2 separate regions of the Homo sapiens genome follow, and region 1 is linked to region 2. Evidence: promoter capture Hi-C in human tissues and cell types (Jung and others, 2019). All regions are on one chromosome and are shown on one strand. Each heading gives the region's core, a stretch centred on a gene start or on the middle of the fragment in contact. The rest is flanking DNA. Distances are from core to core; before and after follow the strand shown.

Evidence for each region. Contacts are between HindIII fragments. The study calls those that stand out against the background at their distance.
Region 1: a contact is called between a fragment that was not itself captured here and the fragment with the promoter of EHF in region 2, in 3 of the 25 tissues and cell types used here (IMR-90 fibroblasts, pancreas and thymus).

The regions. Positions count from the first base shown.
Region 1 is chr11:34,788,071-34,791,780 of GRCh38, forward strand. All of the region lies in intron 6 of LOC102723568 (a long non-coding RNA gene), which reads left to right. Among named protein-coding and RNA genes, the nearest start is that of APIP, 130 kb to the right of the region's middle. The HindIII fragment of the contact is 3,027 bases long and covers 757-3,710 here.
Region 2 is chr11:34,618,606-34,622,342 of GRCh38, forward strand. It overlaps EHF (ETS homologous factor), which reads left to right and starts at 2,488. Exons shown (of 9, transcript NM_012153.6): 1 at 2,488-2,623. RefSeq lists a cis regulatory region at 389-788. The HindIII fragment of the contact is 9,385 bases long and covers 1-3,737 here.

The DNA of each region.
Region 1 (3,710 bases), core at 1,020-3,519, 170 kb after region 2:
CTGGTGGATGCTTAGGAGTAATACCAGAATTTACATTTCAAATGAGTCCCTTGGCATTTTAAATAAACATTACATTCAACAACTATTAATGTAGGTCTTTCTTTCGCCATTGTGATATGAGAAAATCAAACTAGAATTATTTGTAATATTTTTATCTCTATAATTCTATGCTTTTTTCATCCTATATTTTTCCCTGTCTCTTTCAAAGCCCCTAATTTTCCCTGATCAGATTTTTAAAATTTTATGCATTTTCTAATAAAAGGATAGGGCCTCCTTGCAATGGATTCCTCCCTCCCAGTGAAAGGCCTACATTCTAATTATTGATAATACATGAGTTCATCCAGATGTGTTTTCAGCGTTTCTAGATGTCTCCTTTCATCCACCATCAATCAGTGCAGGAGGGTGGGCTTTGTGCTTGGCAGCCAAAGCCGATGAGAGTGAGATGCTAAGGAACCAGACCAAGGATTCAGATGGTGCTGCTACACTGCTCCCAGTGGATTTCATACTCTGGGTCCATGAATCCTGCCTTGACTACAATTCAAAGGGGCCTAGTGTAGGGGTTGAGAGTGTGGCCTCTGGAGTCCAGTACCTGAGTTCAAGTCCTGGCTCTTCCACTTAGTGCCTCAGACACAGTCTGACTTCTCTATTCCTATTCCTCACCTGTAAAATGCAGACAAGCGTATTCCTGACTCACAGGTCCTTACAAGGACCAGATGGTTAATATTTGTAAAGTGCTTGAAAGAGTACCTGGCATATAGTAGGGCCTGTGTAACTGGTTTGTTAAATAAATTGACCTGTTTGGGTTGATTTCAGGTATTAATTTCCTGTGGCACAGTTCTGAGACATCTGAGCAGTGCTTGCGATCATGTGTGAGGTACAGATGTTTGCTTTTGGGTGTCAGCATTTGGGGATGACAACACAGCCAGATGGGCATCTTGGAAATTGTGTTCCAAGAAGACCTAGAGTTCCATTGTGTGTGTGTGTGTGTGTGTGTGTGTGTGTGTGTGTGTGTGTGTGTGTGTGTGTGTTTTGAAGTGAAAAGGACAGATAGTAAACAACTAAGACTAATGAACAAGATACTCTCAGATAGTAGTATTATGAAATAAATAAAATGGGGTGATGTGATAGCAAGACACTGTGGTCTTGTTAAAGATGATCCCCCTGGGCTGCCTCTGTCTCATCCCTCCCCAGTCGCACCCAACCCCAGCCTACTCCCTGCCCAAGATGGGGCAGCCAGGGCCAAACAGTCGTACATGTGTAGCCCACATCACCACACTTGATTTGCTTCATTCCCAAGGGTCAAATAGGCCAATTTCCCACATCCTGTGCTTCCCTCTATTTAAAAGCCCTGAATGACTATTCCAGTGACACTCCTTTGAAAAATTTTCCATGAACTTCGGGCTAAAACCTTCCTTTATTTAATTTCACCTTAATTGCATCAATTAGGCTCCTTTCATGTTTGCTCAACAAACTCTTTTGTTTCTTTCACTCAGCTCTGAGCAACAGCTGCCAAGTGGAGTCTTTGTTCTGAGGCCTTTTTTTAATGGTCTTCACACCAATCTTGTTTGTTTTCCTCAGTGGCAGCTCTGAACAAACCTGAGAAGGTGTTGCCATTAAGCCACAGAGGGCAAGCTTAGTTGCCAGCTGCCATTTACCCCTCATCCAGTTCCCGGAATGGAAAATGAGGCCTTTCTTCTCTCATTTTGAAGGGAACATGTTTGGTTTGGTTGTGTTGGGAGAGGTGTCAGAGCCCTCAGATAACTGAATGCTCCTCAGAGTCTCACTTATGACACCCCTTCTCCCATCCCCAGTCTTCAGTCCCTCAAGTCACTTTTGCTCTTTCAAGCTATAGAGATTTCATGGCTACCTCCCTGCCTGTAGTCTTCTCCCACTTCCTCCATTCTCACAGCTGGCAGAGAAAGATCATTCTAAAATGGATCCCATCAGACCACTCACATGCTAAACTCTTCCATGGCTTCTCACAGAATTCAGGGTACCTTGCTCACTCCTTAGCTTGCTGCTCCAAGTTCTTCAGGCTTGACTCTTTAGTTTCAAGTTCCTCAACCCCTGCAACCCACATGAGGAAGCTTTCCTCCAAGATGGCTGCAATCAAATTTCCTCCCTCCTTCTGTAGGCAAGCCATTCCCCTACTAAGGTAAAGGGCTCTTACTCCCCTCCCCTTGGATCTGGGTTGGCTGCAGTGACTTGCTTGATCATAAGAATGCAGGAGTATGTTCTGGAACTTCCAAAGCTAGGTTACAAAAGGCTTCCTAGCTTTTTTTTTTTTTTTTTTTTTTTTTTTGAGATCGAGTGTCACTCTGTCACCCAGACTGGAGTGCAATGGCGTGGTCTTGGCTCACTGCAACCTCTGCCTCCGGGGTTCAAACGATTCTCCTGCCTCAGCTTCCAGAGTAGCTGGGACTACAGGCAGGTGCCACCACACCCGGCTAATTTTTGTATTTTTAGTAGAGATGGGGTTTCAGTATGTTGGCCAGGCTGGTCTTGAACTCCTGACCTCGTGATCTGCCCACCTCAGCCTCCCAAAGTGCTGGGATTACAGGCATGAGCCACCGTGCCCCACTGGCTTTGTAGCTTTTACCTGGGCTTCTTGAAATACTCACTCTAAGATTATTTACTCTGGGGGAAACTAGCTACCCTGAGACTGCCATGTCATGAGAAGCCACATGGAGGAGCCCTGGATAATGAGATAATGAAATATGTAGAGAGGAAGGGAAGCCAAGAAACACCAAGGCACCAGAAATGTCAGTGAAAAAAAATCTTGAAAGTGAATCTTCAGCCCCAGTGGCCGTAGGTAATGCCAAGTAAACGAGAGATGAACCATCCAGCTGAGCATTTCTGCATTACTTACCCACAAAATTACAAACAAAACTAAATGGTTGTTTTGGGGTAGTTTGTTATACAGCAATAGACAACCAGGAAGTCACTTCCTCAGACAATTCTTTCAGACCTTGAAGTCCACCCTAAGCTATCATGCATATTCCCATGCCATCGTCCTTGCACCTGCTACTGTCTCTATCTGAAATTACCTTTCCATTCTCTGCATGGCCAACTCTTGCTTTTTCTTTGGAAACCTAAGTACTACTTTCTTTGGCAAGACTCTTTTTTTAATCTTTTCAGTTTGTGTAGGACAGGTCCCCTCTAACATTCTTTCAACAAATATATATTAAGCTTCTACTATGAGCCAGACACTGAAGCTTCAACAGTGAAGCATATTTCCATGTTGCTCTATGGTTCCCTGTTATATCAAAGACTGCATTCTGTTTGAAATGGCTTCTACCTTTATCTCACAACAAGCTCGCCGAAGGCTGAGGCTGTATGCTTCTCTATGTATATCCTGGGCATCTGGCGTAGTGCTAGTACATAGTAGGTGCTCAATAGATTCCAACTAAATTAACAAATGAGTTGTGATCTTCAGCTGGTGTTTATATGAACACTTGAGTTTAGGTTTGGCTGATTTCTGCCAAGTCCAGCTTCCTGAAGTGGAAGCATTGTCAAAACCCTGAAATGATAGTGGTGGGAATGAAGTCTAATAGCAAACTTTCTGGTTTGGGTACCCTTCAAATGCAAATGCACCAACACTAAGAACCCAGAGTTGGAAACCCTTTAGAATGAGCACTGGGACACACTTGTCCTGAAATGCACAAGAAAATCTTCTACTTTGATGGTGAGAGGGAAGATCAGCAGATGCA
Region 2 (3,737 bases), core at 1,238-3,737:
ATCTATCTATCTATCTATCTATCTATCTATCTATCTATCATCTATCTATCTATCGCCAGTACTGTCTTGTTGAAGTTGGCAGTAGGGTGAAAGACCTCAAACTCCAAAGGACTTTCCGTATGGATGCAATATACCTGCAATTCTAGCTTTTTTGTGTTTTTTTTTTTAGGTTGGGGGTGAGGGGTATTGTTTTCATTTTTGTTTTTCTTCTGGAAGGTTCAACTAAGACCCAAGTAAAAAGAAGAATCAATACTTAATAAGTACCCAGCAAGTAGCAGGCACACTTTTAGGTACTTTATTTACAAAAAAACCTCCACAAATAAAGTGGCTTGTGAGTATGAGGTGACATCTTTCCCTCCCCTCCCACCATCACTACCCCAATATGACTCGTCTCAATAGCCCTCCAATCTAAAATGGACTAAATACAAGTGGATAAAGAAATGGAGATTTAACCAGAATTCTTCAGCTATAAATTACAGGGCCTATAATTAAAGGTGATTGGGACTGGGTCAGAGAGCCACATCACTTTTGTGGTTGCATTTGAAGTTCACTATCTCTTGACCACACAACCCTAGCCCTTCTACTCCCACCCTGCTGTCTCAGGTTAATCTCAGGCAATGGTGTAAAGAAGGCCAAGTTTGTTTCCCTGGAGTCCCACGGGCTCTAGCAATAATGCTTCCCTTTTCTCATGAGTGCCCCGCCACCCACCCCCCTTCACCATCACTACACACAAATGCCCTGCAGTGGGTGGAATGTAGTTACTTCAGGTTGTGCCTGATTTGTCTCTCAAGCAAAACTCCAGCAGGCCATTCCCTCAGGGCCCTGCTCTCAGATCTGGAACTGATAGACTAATTGGGGCTAATGTGATAATGGGAAATAATGAAATTTGTTGTTTTTATCAGTGTGTATATGGGGCGGGGTTTACATTTGCATTTTCACAGGGCCCTTGGCAAGTTCACAGGGTTGAACAGTTGGGAAGGGTGGGAATGTCTGGGGCAGGTTAGGGAGGCAGAGGGATTTATTAGAACTCCCCTAAACTGCACTGACCAAAGCCTCAAGCCCTTCTTCAAGACCTGCCCAGCTTCCAAGACCTTCCCAAGTCCACCCTTGTTTTCCCACTGAGTCTTTTACACTTTCAGAAACCTCTGAATTTGTGTAGAAACTAGAAAAAATAAGTAAGAAAAGACTAATACTACTGCACACTCACTGTTCCCCCTTAATATAATAACCAGTTTTTATTCTATTCAGTCAGCCTTTGACCATAAGCAGACCTTTTTTTTTCTTTTTAACACAAGTAACTTCTTGGTTTTGATCACAAAATCTTTATCTCTGCCAAATCTCAACTTCCCTTCCCTCTCCCACAAAAGGGAGGCCCGTTGAGTCAAAGAAATCTGCTTAGACACTTTGCTCATGCCAGGCCAGTGTCCTGGAAGGTTCAACAGAGAAAGTTAATGGTTGGGGGATGGTATTTTTCTTTGCTAGGAGCAGTCATTCACCCGTATGGGAGAAGGTACATTTGTGACCCAGTGAAGCAGGTACAGGTAACTCCCCATATGTCCCTTGGCCCAAGGGAATAGAGGTTGCCTGGGTATTTGAATCCGTAGATCCTCCCTAATATTCCACCTTCTTCTTGTCCAAACTGTGCTTTTTTATTTCCAGTTTCAGCATTTTGGTCTTCTCATCTCTAACTCTTATAGGGAGTGTCAATAAACCTTTTAAAAAAGATCATGTAAGTGTCAAGAGGAAGTGAAGAACCTAGATAATCCACCAACCGGATAATCAGCTCTTGCATATTTGAGAGTTGACTGCTTGACCTAAGCATCTCCTCATAAGGTACCCTCCCTCCCAGGACCTTCCCTTTCAAACCTCTCAAGGCTCTTACCTGGGGCCAGGGGAGATAGGCTTTTCAAAGTCCATTGAATTGCCAAGAGTCTCTGTCAAGAAGGCAGTCATGGTGCCTGGAGAGGGAACTTGCTGGGAGCCCCTTCAGAGCCTGGTACTTATAGAGCTAGGGAAAAGATCTTGATGCCAAAGCAGGGTGGACTAAATACAGACTAATAAATGAGACAGGTGCTCAAGAGGGCCCCTCCATACCATCATCTCCTCCAGATTTGGACTTCTACTCACTTTGCTTTTACATTCCCTCTTCCCGATGGTGTCTTTGGTGAGCAGGGTGCTTTTCACCTGAAACAGCCTCTGAGCTGAAAAGAACAGTCACCACCAAATCAATTCCTCATCCATTAACAGGTTGTCTCTCTGTTCTTGAGACACAGGCATTACCTGGTTAGACCTGTTTTGTTTGAACACTAACGTGTGAGTTGGCCAAATGCAAATGAGCCAGTGTTTGTAATCCTTTATTTTATTTTTTTAAAGGGCTGGGTAGCCAATCAGAAGAGGGGGAAGTGACTTAGGGAATTCCCGGTTGGTGGCTTATTGCTTAACATCCTACAAAATGATTTAAAATTATTGTTATATGCATTTATCTTCACTCTGATGAGGGCTCAGACTTGATAACACCCGTGGTGCCCCATCCCTATAGGAGCTGGTGAGATTGCAGCCTGCTGCCTCCCCTCCAACAGCCACAGCTATTGGATTTCCCACCCAGAATCTTTAGGTAAATGAGGTAAGTCCTGATTTTTAAAACTTCTTTTGAATCTGGAATCCAAACACTTGAGTGGAAAGAGAAGCCTGCTTTAAACTGGACAGATGAAACTAGAACAGACTCTTGGAGACGGCTGGCAGGAAGTGAAGCTCACCTTACCTGGGCTTACCTCACTGGGTCAAATCAGAATTTTATTTTGGAGGGCAGGTTGGCTACTTTGGATATTATCTGTGAATTTCCTGCATTGTCTGGACTTCTAATCTCTGTGAATTTAAAAGCCCCCTCGTTTCCCTATGCCTGGGTGGCAAAACCATTCCCCTGGGTTGAATTCTTCTGGAACAAATAGGCAGCTAGAGATAGGTGGCTCTGATATAGCTCAGAGAAGAAGTGGTTGGCTAAGTAGCTGTTAGGGCTCAGAGTACACGGTCTCGCTTTCTAGAGATGTCTTCTGCTGGTAATTTTTCTGACTTATGAGCTACATGGAAAGGCCAATTTGTTTTTAATATGTTCCAGGACTGGAAAATGGCTAGAAATAGGCAAGAACATACACAATCACACTGGAAAAAGTGGCCAGGCAGCCAAGGCAGGCAGAGGTATTGGGGAGAGCTGAATATCTACAAAAACAAAAATTCAGAAAAAACAAAAATCAATTTTGGCAAAGGGCTTCACTGTATAACAAGGGGACAAGCTAACCCTTTGTTTACAAACTAACCCTTTGTTTACTCCATTTTGTCCAGAAAATACAACAATCAGTTTTGGCAAAGGGCTTCACTGTGTAACAAGGGGACAAACTAACCCTTTGTTTACTCCATTTTGGGAGACTATGATCAGACAGGCAGTTGTGACTCAGCAGCAACAAATGCCTTCTGAGACAGGGATTCTTTTGATTTTGCTTGGACATTGTGGAGAAGTGTTAGCCCCAATGTGGACTGATCTGGGAACAGTGGGAAATTAACTTCTTGTTGGTAAATATCAGGCTGAGGTGAGAAAGCGACATTTTCACCGTCCATCTTTGCTGATTTACCATGCTCCCAGGATGGTGGGAGTGTGTGTTTTTAAGATGGAGAGTGTATGCTTCTGGGTTCAAGTTCACAGGTGTCTCTGCTGGTTATCTGCACTCACCTTGGTAACAGGG